Linked DNA regions of Homo sapiens: regions 2 and 3 are each linked to region 1. Evidence: promoter capture Hi-C in human tissues and cell types (Jung and others, 2019). All regions are on one chromosome and are shown on one strand. The core of a region is centred on a gene start or on the middle of the fragment in contact, and the rest is flanking DNA. Distances in the headings are between cores, read along the strand shown.

Region 1 (3,657 bases), core at 828-3,327:
ACCCTTTACACCTGCCTCAGAGGTCGGGGCTTCCAGGAGGGAGGGAGGGAGACAAAGCCACACACCACAAGAGGGGAAGCAGGAAAGCTGGGGACTTGTATCAGGGATGGCTTCCGAGGCACCCCGCCCCGCCTTCCCACCACGTTCTAAGTGCTGATTTCTCCCAGGGACCTGAAAAGAAGGATGAGGAGACAGAATCCACCAGTGTGGCCTGCCCGAGCTCCACGTAGCAAAGCCTGTCTTCAGTTTCTCATTTTTGTCCCTCTGGTGTCTCCCTCTGCCCCAGTCCCCTCCCCTTGACCTCCACTGCCAAGTCATCCTGTCCCTTCACTTCTGACCAGTCTGCCGCATTGGCCACTGCCACAGCCGCCGTCACCAGAAAAGCAACTGCTAGGTGCTAGGGATGCAGTGGCAAGCAAGACAGGGTCGCTGCCCTCTCAGAGGGGAGCACAAAACGCATAGGAACCAGGTATGTTGAGAAGTTACAGTCTAATGCAGAGAATTGGCTGACGCGGAGGACGGATCCCATAGCCAAGGGTAGCTAAAAAGCCCTCCTTGATGGAGGGACGTTTGAGCAAGAACTGAGTGAGGAATGGCACCTTGCGTGAAGACCTGGGGTCTCTGCAGGCCGTGGGCAGAGTCAGGCAGCTCCAGGGCAGGAGAGAGGGGAGAAAGAAGGGAGACGGGGGCCCAGCAGGTTTACAGTAGGAAGAGGCCAGCCCGGCTAGTGAAAGAGCTAAGGGTTTTGTTGGTTTTTTTTGAGACAGTGTCTCTGTCACCCAGACTCTAGTGCAGTGGCACAATTATAGCTCACTGCAGCCTGGAACTCCTGGGTTCAAGCGATCCTCCGGCCTCGGCCTCCCCAGTAGCTGGGACTACAGGCGTGCAGGGCCCGGCTAATTTATTTTTTGTAGAGATGTGGTATCTTTTGTTGCCTGGGCTGGTCTGGAACTCCTGGCCTCAAGCGATCCTCCCGCCTTGGCCTCCCAAAGCGTTGGGACTACAGGCGTGAGCCACCGGCCAGAGTTTTCTGAGCCCCCTGGAGATCTATGCGGGGGTGGGGGACAAGGGGGTCTGGCAGAGGCGGTGAAAGAATCTGACCTTTGGTAAAAGGCCACTCCTACCGCCCCTTCCCTGGTGGGCTGCGGAAGGCTGGGGAGGAAGCATGAACGGCAGCTGGAGACTGTCTCCGTGCTCAGGATGCCGGGCGGCGGCGGCGGCGGGGTCGAAGCGAGATGAGTCTCAGGTGTGCGAGCACCGCGGGCTGTGGACGAGAGGCCCGGGCGGGCGGCGGTGCCATTCACCGAGAAGGGCGCACAGCAGGTGGCTTGGTTCCGTCCCAGGAGGTTTCAGCCCAGGCTGCGCCGCGGCCCGGGTGGCCCCTGTCCCGCCGCGGGCGTCCCCAGGCGCTGGCCGCACGGCCTCGCCCCGCCGCCCTCCGAGCCGCGGAGACCCCAGAGCCCGGCTCTCCACCCGCCGCGGAGCGCACGACCCCGTCTGGTGGGGCGCGGGTCCTGAGGCTGCGCTCGGCCTTGGGCGGCAGCCGCCTCGGATCCCCACAGGACTCGGTGACCCAAAACGCCCTGGCGCGGGCAGGGGGCGAACTCTGGTTCATTCTTTCAACGCGACAGTCTCCGAAGGGCTGACGGCAGCAGAGACCCACTCTGCGGGGACCCCCGGGCCGGGGTTGGCAGCAGCGCTGCGCGTCGGGCGCGGGCGGCCCAGGCTGGCGGGGTCTACCGCGCCCGGCTCCAGCCTCTGTCCCCAGCCTGGAGAACCGAAGCCGAGCGGCCCGTGGGCCCCGAGCCGTGCCCGCCGAGGCCAGACTCGCGCCGCACCCGGGCGGGGCCGGCGTCCTCGCGGGGACCCTGGGGGACCGGGGAGCGGGCCGCGGGGTGCAAAGGCACGGCCGCCCTGGCGACGCCCCTCCCTGCACGGTGACCCAGCCTCCCTCACAGCAGCGGCGTCCCGGCCCCCAACCTACCTGAGCGTGACGCCGGGGTACGGGCGTGGAGCTCGTGCAGCGGAGCCAGGGCGGATGGCGCCCAGGTGCGCGGAGCTCTCGGGGCTCGGGAGTGGGCGGGGCTTCTGGAGGAGGTGGGAATTTGGGGCGGGGTTCTGGCGGGGGCGGGTTTGGGGCCTCCCCGGACCCAGCCGCGGGTCTCCGCAGCGCCGGAGGCTGGACGCACGCGTCCCGCGCCCGGTCCTGGGGTCCGCACGAGCCGGGTCGGGCAGAGGCTGCTCCTCCTCCCCAGGACGCCGGCGCCACACCCGCCCCCCGACGCGTGCGGCGGGACAGAAGCGGAGGCGGGAGTGCTGGGAACAGCCTTTACTGCCCACGCCCTACACGGCGAACATGCGCAGAGCCTCCTCCGCCGAGCGGCACTGGTTCAGCTGGATCTGCACCTCTACGGTCAGGGGCTCAGGGTGGTAATCGCCTTCGTAGATCGGAATCACGGCTTTCGGCTTTTCTGAGAAAATTTAAGTGCGAGCATGAGCCCCGGGAGACGGATGGGCTGGCGTTCTCGGCCGCCCTGACCCATCCCATATGCAAGCCCTGGACCCTGTCCCAGCGGGAGCACAGTTTTGGTCCTCGGGTGTTAACAGTAATAAGAAATAAAATTAAATTGTATTTAATTAGATCATTTAATAAATCGCAGCTGTTTGAGTTGCAAGACTGGCTGCTTTTTGCTTTGAGACAGTGTCGTGCTCCGTCGCCCAGGCTGGAGTGCGGTGGCATGATCCCGGCTCACTGCAACCTCCGCCTCCCAGGTTCAAGCGATTCTCCTGCGTCAGCCTCCAAGTAGCTGGGATTACAGGCGCCTGTCACCACGACCGGCTATTTTTTGTAGTTTTAGTAGAGACGGGGTTTCACCATGTTGGCCAGCCTGGTCTCGAACTCCTGACCTCAAGTGATCCGCCTGCCTAGGCCTCCCAACGTGCTAGGATCACAGGCGTACACTACCGAGCCCAGCTGCAGATATTTTCTTAAAAATGAAGTAATTATAGCACTTCAGGGGAAACAACTGAAAGCATTTCAATAAATGTATAACATTTGCCCTAAAAATGAGACAACATTGTATCTGCCACCATGAATTTACCAATTTTCCAATACGCAAAGACCTTTCTAATGATGTGGGTGGTGATAGTAAAGAACGTGATCTTTGGAAAATGTATAGTGACAGGTGTCAACTGTTGGAATATCTGCATAAGTCTGTTAACCTGTAGTTTACAAGTAACTCATGCATGTTACAAACTGCATGGTAAAATATCCGTTCAAAATGCAAACTAGATTAATGAATTTTAATCTGATTATGAAAAATTCAATATAGATTGTTTTCACATTGTAACAACCTTTAAGAAATTACCACTTGTCAAATTTGGTGTAATATTAAAGAAATTATATTATTTTAAGGTCTATTAAAATACTCCCTCTTTTCCAATTATGGGCCTGAGGTTGGATTTTCTTTGTGCACGTCAATTACAGCAACATATTGCAAGCAGTTGACTGCAGAAGTAGCTGTAAGAATCCAGCTGTCTTCAATTAAGCCAAACATTAAAGAGATTAAAAAAAAAAAAACCTTTTTAAGGCCATCTTAACCCACAGATAAGTATCACAAATCACATGTTCATATAGGCATGGGTTTTGAAGTCCAG
Region 2 (3,657 bases), core at 798-3,297, 58 kb after region 1:
TCAGACAAGAGCTTGTGTATCAACCCACTGCATTCTACATCGAGATCCAGATCTGGGCAGTCATCTGGTGAAGCAACCCCATGGCTCTGTGCGGGGCTGTGTCTTCTCGCTGGGTCACCCTGTCCAGGCACAGGGCGCCAGATGGGTGGGCGCGGGGCCCAGGAAAACGACAGAGAAAAGCTGCTACATTAAACGAAGATGAGCCAAACCTTCTCAGCACCTGAACAAAGGAACAGTTCTACTGGCCAGCTTTCTAGTCTTTCCCATCTCTGGTATTGGGTCAATAACGAGGAGGGGAACCACAGTGCCTGGAGGCTCCCACTGTGACTGAGGATCTTGCAGAGCTGGGCCAGTGCTGGCTGTGCTGATGACTGCACTCTCTAAGCACAGAGCTCCACGGGCTACTGAACACTTGGACACATGTGATTTCACGTGAAACTGTCAAGCGTGCAGGCCTGGTGCTCTTTGCCCAAGTCCCGGATGAGGAAACGGGAGGTTTATAGGGGCACCAGTGAGTTCTGTCCATCTGGGTGCGGCCTGGAGCAGTGGCCTGCCTCACTAGCCCCTGCTGAGGCCACAGGCAGAACCCGCCACACTGGGCCTTTCTCATCAGCCTTTGTGGGGAGGCCTGTCTTTAGAAGAGGAGCACCGACTTTCTGGACACACCTCTAGAATCGCCCTCCCACCCTGGGCCTCTTCCCCACCCAATGCCTCCATCCCAGGCTTATCACACCTCCCGAGGTTAGAAGGAGTGAGCTGGCCAAGGGCATCGCTATGCTCAGATCTCTTCATTTTCCCATCTCTTCCACTGCTGCAACAGGATAGTATTTAAGGCCACACATCACAGGCTTTTCAAAAAAAATAAGGTGTCTTTATTGTCTTGGATGCAAATATAGTTTAAAAAATGCATTGTAGTGTTGAATACAGCTGGTGGAAACGTGCTTCTTGACAGCAGAGCAATCAGAGGGGTGTACTCAGGGTGACGTGGACCGGAGGGGGCCTCTGGCCAAACCAGACTCTTCTCTGGTTTGTTCTTCAGACCACGAGGTGGAACCATCTCTTCAAAGGAGCCCTGCCACCATCACCAAAGCTCACACCAGAAAAAACCGCCATTTACACAACAAACTGAACCTGAAAAAGGAACGGAACATGGTGCTTCCGCCGTGAACAAAATCAGCAAGTGAATCCGTTTTCCTTTCCCGGGCTGTTCGAAAAAGATTCGGCTAGAGAAAAGGGGGCACTGTGGGCAGCCCGTAGGGGATGGCCTGGAGCTGTGGGGCCCGGGCTGAGCCCTCCCTGCCTTTTAACTGCAGGATGTAAACTCTATGGAAATGTATAGAACTTCAGTTTCTCCCAACCCTCCACAACCTCAACTCTTGAGACCACCAAATAACTGTTAGGAAACGCAGAAGAGAGTCCTTCAAATGAGCTACACCCAGGTTCAGAGCGCAGAACCAACAGTGTGACTGGGGCATGGAGGTAAATTCTGACACGATTGGAGGGGAATTTCACAAAACAAAATTCCATGAAGTCAACACGCACACGCGCGCGTGCACACACACACACACACACGCATACACACAAAGTCAACATTCAACGTGAAGAGTTCCCTTTTCTTTCTCGAAGGTTGGTTTTTGCAAGCCCTGACAAGCAAAGAGTCCCTTGCGGTGGCCAGGGGGGCCAAGACCTCAGAATGAAAAGCCCACAGCTGCTCTGTCCTCACCCGCTCTGGAGGCCAGCCCTGGTACAGGCATGGGGGTGGGGGTCCTAAAACCCTTCGTCAGCGTTCCTGGAGCCCTTGCCAAGCTTACCATGTGCCCCATGCGTGTCCCTCACATCACAAAAACCTGTCCAGCCGCCCAAGGCCATGGTGTCCACCGAATGCCACAAACATGCTGCTGAGCCTCAAAGCTCTTCAACCTCCCACCTTGCTGTCCCCTCTCCCCTGACAAGTGTGCAGACAAGGTAAAAATCCCCCAAAGCAGAGATGTCGAGGGCCCGGAGCCACACACCACATCCCCGTGCATCTTTGGCACTCTGGCTGGCCACTGCTGCACACGCTGCCTGCCCGGATCAGTGCTGTCCAGCCCTCCTTTCCCTTCCCCAAGGAAACGCTGGGCCAAGCTGAGCTCCAAAACAGGTGGGTTCCTCTGGGGCCGGGGAGCAGGTGTTGAGGGAAAGGCCACTTTCCCACCAGAGGGAAAAGAGAGAGGCTCAACTCACACCCAGGCTGCCTGCTAGGAGGCCTCAGGCGGGCGAGGCAGCGGCCAGGCGACAAGGGAAAGGGACAGCTGAGGGCGAACGGGGGTGATGAGACGGGCCCTCCAAGCCTTCCCACGTCAGAGCCAGGGTAAGGAAAAGAGCTGGACCAAAGCAAGGTCCATCTGCCAGTGCATAACCAGGCCCACAGCACCCCAAATCCCCCACACACAGGGGTCCACTGGCCCGGGACAGGCCCAGCTCCACACCCATGAGTTCTGAGAGCCTAACGTACTGTCCAGCAGACAGCGAGACCTCACCATCTTGAAAACCTGAACCTGCCACCTCAGGTTCACCCGGGGGCCAGCTAGGGCCTTGGAGGAAGGGGCCTCGCCAGTTCTCAGCTGCAGCTCCCCTCTATGAGAGAGACCCTTACCTGCACCCCAGCTGCCGGCAGGGCCAGTCATGGCTGTGCACGGAGATGAGGTGGGTGTGTAAGCCCCCCAACGTCAGCAACAGACAGAGGTGCTGCCTGCCACTGTGCTACTTTATCTGGGCAGGGACTGGGGGTGCCATGCCCTCTAAGAATCCAAATTTACATCCTCTTAGCCAGAGCAGAGAAACCTTAGGATTGACTTCTAGAAAAGGGAGTGTGGTCAGGGCCCATGGGCGGGAAATGGGAGGGCTGGCTGACGGCTGACCCCACTCCCCTGGCTGACAGCTCCGGGACCATGCGCAGCACTGGGGGGGTCTGCTGCTTTCCAGCCCCTTCCCCTCAACCAGACCCAATGCTGTCATCAGCACCAATGGCCAGCGCTGCTATTGCTTCCTGCGGTAAAATCCTTCAAAGTAGAGATGTCCTAAGAAGGCAGCTAGCCAGCCCGCCCAGGGTGCCGGATGCTGCGTGGCCTGCTGGCCGACTCCAAGAAAAGCCCTCAGTGGCGCCTGCCCCGCTCTGGGGTCTCCCACCCACCATGGAAGGCAGCAGTGCAGTGCAGGGGCTGACAGCACAGGGCAATTTATCAGAAACCCGCCCAGGGATTTATACGCCAGCAGGCCTTCTGGTTTTTCTTTTTGGATTTTCTATTTTTTTCTTCTTTTTTTTTTTGAGATAGGGTTTTGCTCTGTCACCCAGGCTGGAGTGCAGTGGTACAATCTCAGCTCACTGCAACCTCCGCCTCCCAGGTTCAAGTGATTCTCCTGACTCAGCCTCCCGAGTAGCTGGGATTACAGGCGTGTACCACCACACGTGGCTAATGTTTTGTATTTTTAGTATAGACAGGGTTTCACCATGTTGGTCAGGCTGGTTGTGAACTCCTGACTGCAGGTGATCCACCCGCCTTGGCCTACCAAAGTGCTGGGATTACAGGCGTGAGCCACCACAGTCTGCCTCTATTTTCTTTTATTTAGAGGCAGGGTTTCACTCTGTCATCCAGGCTGGAGTACAGTGTGGCATGA
Region 3 (3,657 bases), core at 829-3,328, 34 kb before region 1:
TGGCTCACTGTAACCTCCGCCTCCCCGCCTCAAGTGATTCTTGTGCCTTAGCCTCCCGAGTAGCTGGGACTACGGGTGTGTGCCACCATACCCAGCTAATTTTTGTGTTTTTGGTAGAGATGGGGTTTGGCCATGTTGGTCAGGCTGGTCTTGAACTCCTGGCCTGAAGTGATCCACCCACCTCGGCCCCCTACAGTGCTGAGATTACAGGTGTGAGCCACCGTGCCCAGCCACATGTCTAGTTTCTGAATCGTGCTCTGTGTATAAAAGCATGCCACTCAAGTAAATTAACATTTAATTTCTAAGTTGCAAATTTGCTAATTTCATTTTAGCTTCTGAAGACTTTTTTGATAAATTAACCGTGGAACAGGAGTTTATGTCTGGAATAGACACTGATAAGGTATGTGGACAAAAAAACCTCTTTAACAAGTAATTGAAAGCTTATTAAACCTCAGATTATAGCCAGAAAACCAATTGCTTTGATTCCCATGCCTTGCCTTTTTTTTTTTTTTTTTTTTTTTTTTTTTTGAGACGGAGTCTCACTGTGTGTCACCCAGCTTGCTCTGTTGCCCAGGCTGGAGTGCAGTGGCGCCATCTCTGCTCACTGCAAGCTCCGCCTCCCGGGTTGACGCCATTCTGCCTCAGCCTCCCGAGTAGCTGGGACTACAGGCGCTCACCACCACACCTGGCTAATTTTTTGTATTTTTAATAGAGACGGGGTTTCACCATGTTAGCCAGGATGGTCTCGATCTCCGACCTTGTGATCCGCCCACCTTGGCCTCCCAAACTGTTGGGATTACAGGCGTGAGTCACTGCGCCCGGCCACTTAAATATTTTTAAGAGCAAATGCAAAATGTGCAAGTGTAGATTTTATCAAGTAACAGATATTTAACATTATTCTGTGCAAGACACTTTCTGCCATACATGGCAACATGAGACCTGGCCCCTAAAATCAAATCTTTTTAAGACTGTATTAGATAAGGTATTTGCTCTTTTGAAAGAGTTTCTTATATAACTCCTTTAAATAGCTCTATTAACAAATTTTAAATTATTCACTTTATGAAAATTCCTAACATAAAACAATTACTGATACTTTTTGCTAGATTAGTTGTTGATACTATTGAAATGGAGTAGACATCTGGTAGCCTCTCAGAAGCGTGTCCTTAGAGACAGACGTGTCCAGACAGGCATATGGAGTGACCAATTGTATTCTCAGCGGCCTTGGGCTCCAGTGACTTGGCCTGATCACTGGGGGGTGTGTGTGTGTGTGTGTGTGTGTGTATGTATGTATGTGTGTGTGGGGTGTGTGTGTGTGTGTGGTGGCCAGGGTGTGTGTGTGGCTGGGGCTAGCAGAGCTATTTCGGGGAAGGGTTAGGGACTGTGGAAAAATAACTCATTTTCCCACGTATCTCCTTTATTGGACTTTGAAAAATAATAATAAACATCAAGTTAAGTTCCTAAACCATGTATTGTGTGTGTGTGTGTGTGTGTGTGTGTGTGTGTGTGTATGTATATGTAAATGTATATGTATATGTATGCTACTTTATTTCCAGGTCAACAATTACATTGAGGATTGTATCGCCCAAAAGCACTCGTTGATCAAGGTGTTAAGACTAGTTTGCCTCCAATCCGTGTGTAATAGTGGGCTCAAACAAAAAGTTTTGGATTATTACAAAAGAGAGATTCTCCAGGTGAGTATATTTTTAAATTATTAATTTGCCAAGGGGGACAGCATCTTTTTAAAAAATACTTCATGGGCCGGGCACAGTGGCTTACGCCTGTAATCCCAGCACTTTGGGAGGCCAAAGCAGGTGGATCACTTGAGGTTAGGAGTTTGAGACCAGCCTGGCCAACATGGTGAAACCCCCATCTCTATTAAAAATACAAAAATTAGCCAGGCATGGTAGCATGCACCTGTAGTCCCAGCTATTTGAGAGGATCAGGCAGGAGAATCGCTTGAACGCAGGAGGCGGAGGTTACAGTGTGTCAAGATCATGCCCCTGCACTCCAGCCTGGGCAACAGAGTGAGACTCTGTCTCAAAAAATAATAATAAAAAATTTAAAATTAAAAAAAATAAAAATTACAAAGCTGCCATTTTGGTATCTTGTAACGACTGTTGTATAAATTTTTTAACACCTAGAGGAATTGGTCTTGGTAGCCATCACTGTTTATTGTATTTGTGTGATAATAATAGCTAACAGGCTGGGCACAGTGGCTCACCTCTGTTATCTCAATATTTTGTGGGGCTGAGGCAGGAGGATCGCTGGAGGCCAAGACCAGCCTGGCAACATAGCAAGACCCTGTCTCTACAAAAAAAATACAAAAATTTACCAGGCATGGTGGCTGTGTCTGCAGTCCCAGCTACCCAGGAGGCTGAGTTAGGAGGATTGCTTGAGCCCAGGAGTCCAAAACCAGCCTAGGCAACATAGCTTGTTTACAAAAAGTAAAAAATAATAATAATAGGTAACATTTCTTGAGCATTTACTATGTGCTAGGATCTATTGGAAAAACTTTATAGGCCGGGCGCGGTGGCTCTGTACCCTGACTCTACTAAAAATACAAAAAATTAGCCGGGCGCGGTGGCGGGCGCCTGTAGTCCCAGCTACTCGGGAGGCTGAGGCAGGAGAATGGCGTGAACCCGGGAGGCGGAGCTTGCAGTGAGCCGAGATTGCGCCACTGCAGTCCGCAGTCCGGCCTGGGCGACAGAGCGAGACTCCGTCTCAAAAAAAAAAAAAAAAAAAAGAAAAACTTTATGTGCATTCATTTGTTTCATCTTCACAATACTTCCTTGTTAACTGTAGTTACCATAACAACAACAACAAATATTCACAACAGCCTTGTGAGTTAGAGACTGCTATCGTCCCAGTTTTATGGATGAAAAACTGAGGCACAGACTAGTTTAGGTAACTCACCCAAGGTTACCTGGCTGGTAAGTGGCACAGCCAGTGGTAAACCAGGCAATTTGAGTGTAGCGCCCATGTTCTTAACTCCGCAGTTATACCACGGAGGAAAAGAACTTTCTGCAAATTTCTGATGACAGTTGCTTAGCAGGTTTACTTAAATTAAGCCTGTGTTACTTATAATAAGGAAAAGGCCACTCTTGTTTTTGAAAAGTCTCCCCTTTGTTTGAAAATGACTCAGGTAGTATTTATTTGCTGTTACCAGTGACAGTTAAGTACATTTTTATTAAAATTGAGTGCTCATTAATTTTTTGTTTTTGTCTTTTTTTAAGTTATGTATCCTTGTGTAAGAGTCAAATAATGCAGAAGTACACAGAGCAAAATGTGAACGTCCCCTGTACCTTGCTCATACCCCAGTTTCCCTCCCCAGATGTGACCAGTGTCAGCAGTCTGATTTGCTTCCTTCCAAACTCCATTCTTTGCATTTAGACAGAATGTTTCCATACACAGACTTCAGAGCAAGACTGGCTGGATCCAGGTTTCAGCTCTGCTCTTCACTAGCTGTGTGACTTTAGGCAGGTTATTTAAACATCTCTGTAAAATGAAGGTAATGATACCTACGTCATGGGGTTAGAGCCGGGATGACTGAGTTAATGTATGTAAGTGCTTAGACCAGAACAGTGCCCAGCTCATAGAAAGTATTTTATAAGTGTTGGCTACTTTTTAAAATTTATTTATTTTTTGAGACAGTATCTC

The links. The method cuts DNA at HindIII sites, captures the fragments that hold promoters and counts their contacts. A contact is called where the count stands out against the background at its distance.
Region 2: a fragment that was not itself captured here is called in contact with the fragment with the promoter of B3GNT4 in region 1 in 1 of the 25 tissues and cell types used here (mesenchymal stem cells).
Region 3: a contact is called between a fragment that was not itself captured here and the fragment with the promoter of B3GNT4 in region 1, in 1 of the 25 tissues and cell types used here (bladder).

The regions. Positions count from the first base shown.
Region 1 is chr12:122,202,129-122,205,785 of GRCh38, reverse strand. It overlaps B3GNT4 (UDP-GlcNAc:betaGal beta-1,3-N-acetylglucosaminyltransferase 4), which reads right to left and starts at 2,077. Exons shown (of 3, transcript NM_030765.4): 1 at 1,985-2,077; 2 at 1,102-1,264. The coding sequence starts at 1,167. LRRC43 (leucine rich repeat containing 43) reads right to left here. Exons shown (of 12, transcript NM_001098519.2): 12 at 2,315-2,471. The coding sequence ends at 2,344. RefSeq lists a silencer at 1,763-2,392. The HindIII fragment of the contact is 16,495 bases long and covers 1-3,657 here.
Region 2 is chr12:122,144,537-122,148,193 of GRCh38, reverse strand. MLXIP (MLX interacting protein) reads right to left here. Exons shown (of 17, transcript NM_014938.6): 17 at 850-3,657. Among named protein-coding and RNA genes, the nearest start is that of IL31, 28 kb to the left of the region's middle. The HindIII fragment of the contact is 4,489 bases long and covers 1-3,657 here.
Region 3 is chr12:122,236,621-122,240,277 of GRCh38, reverse strand. It overlaps VPS33A (VPS33A core subunit of CORVET and HOPS complexes), which reads left to right. Exons shown (of 13, transcript NM_022916.6): 9 at 333-400; 10 at 1,554-1,691. Among named protein-coding and RNA genes, the nearest start is that of DIABLO, 12 kb to the right of the region's middle. The HindIII fragment of the contact is 8,655 bases long and covers 1-3,657 here.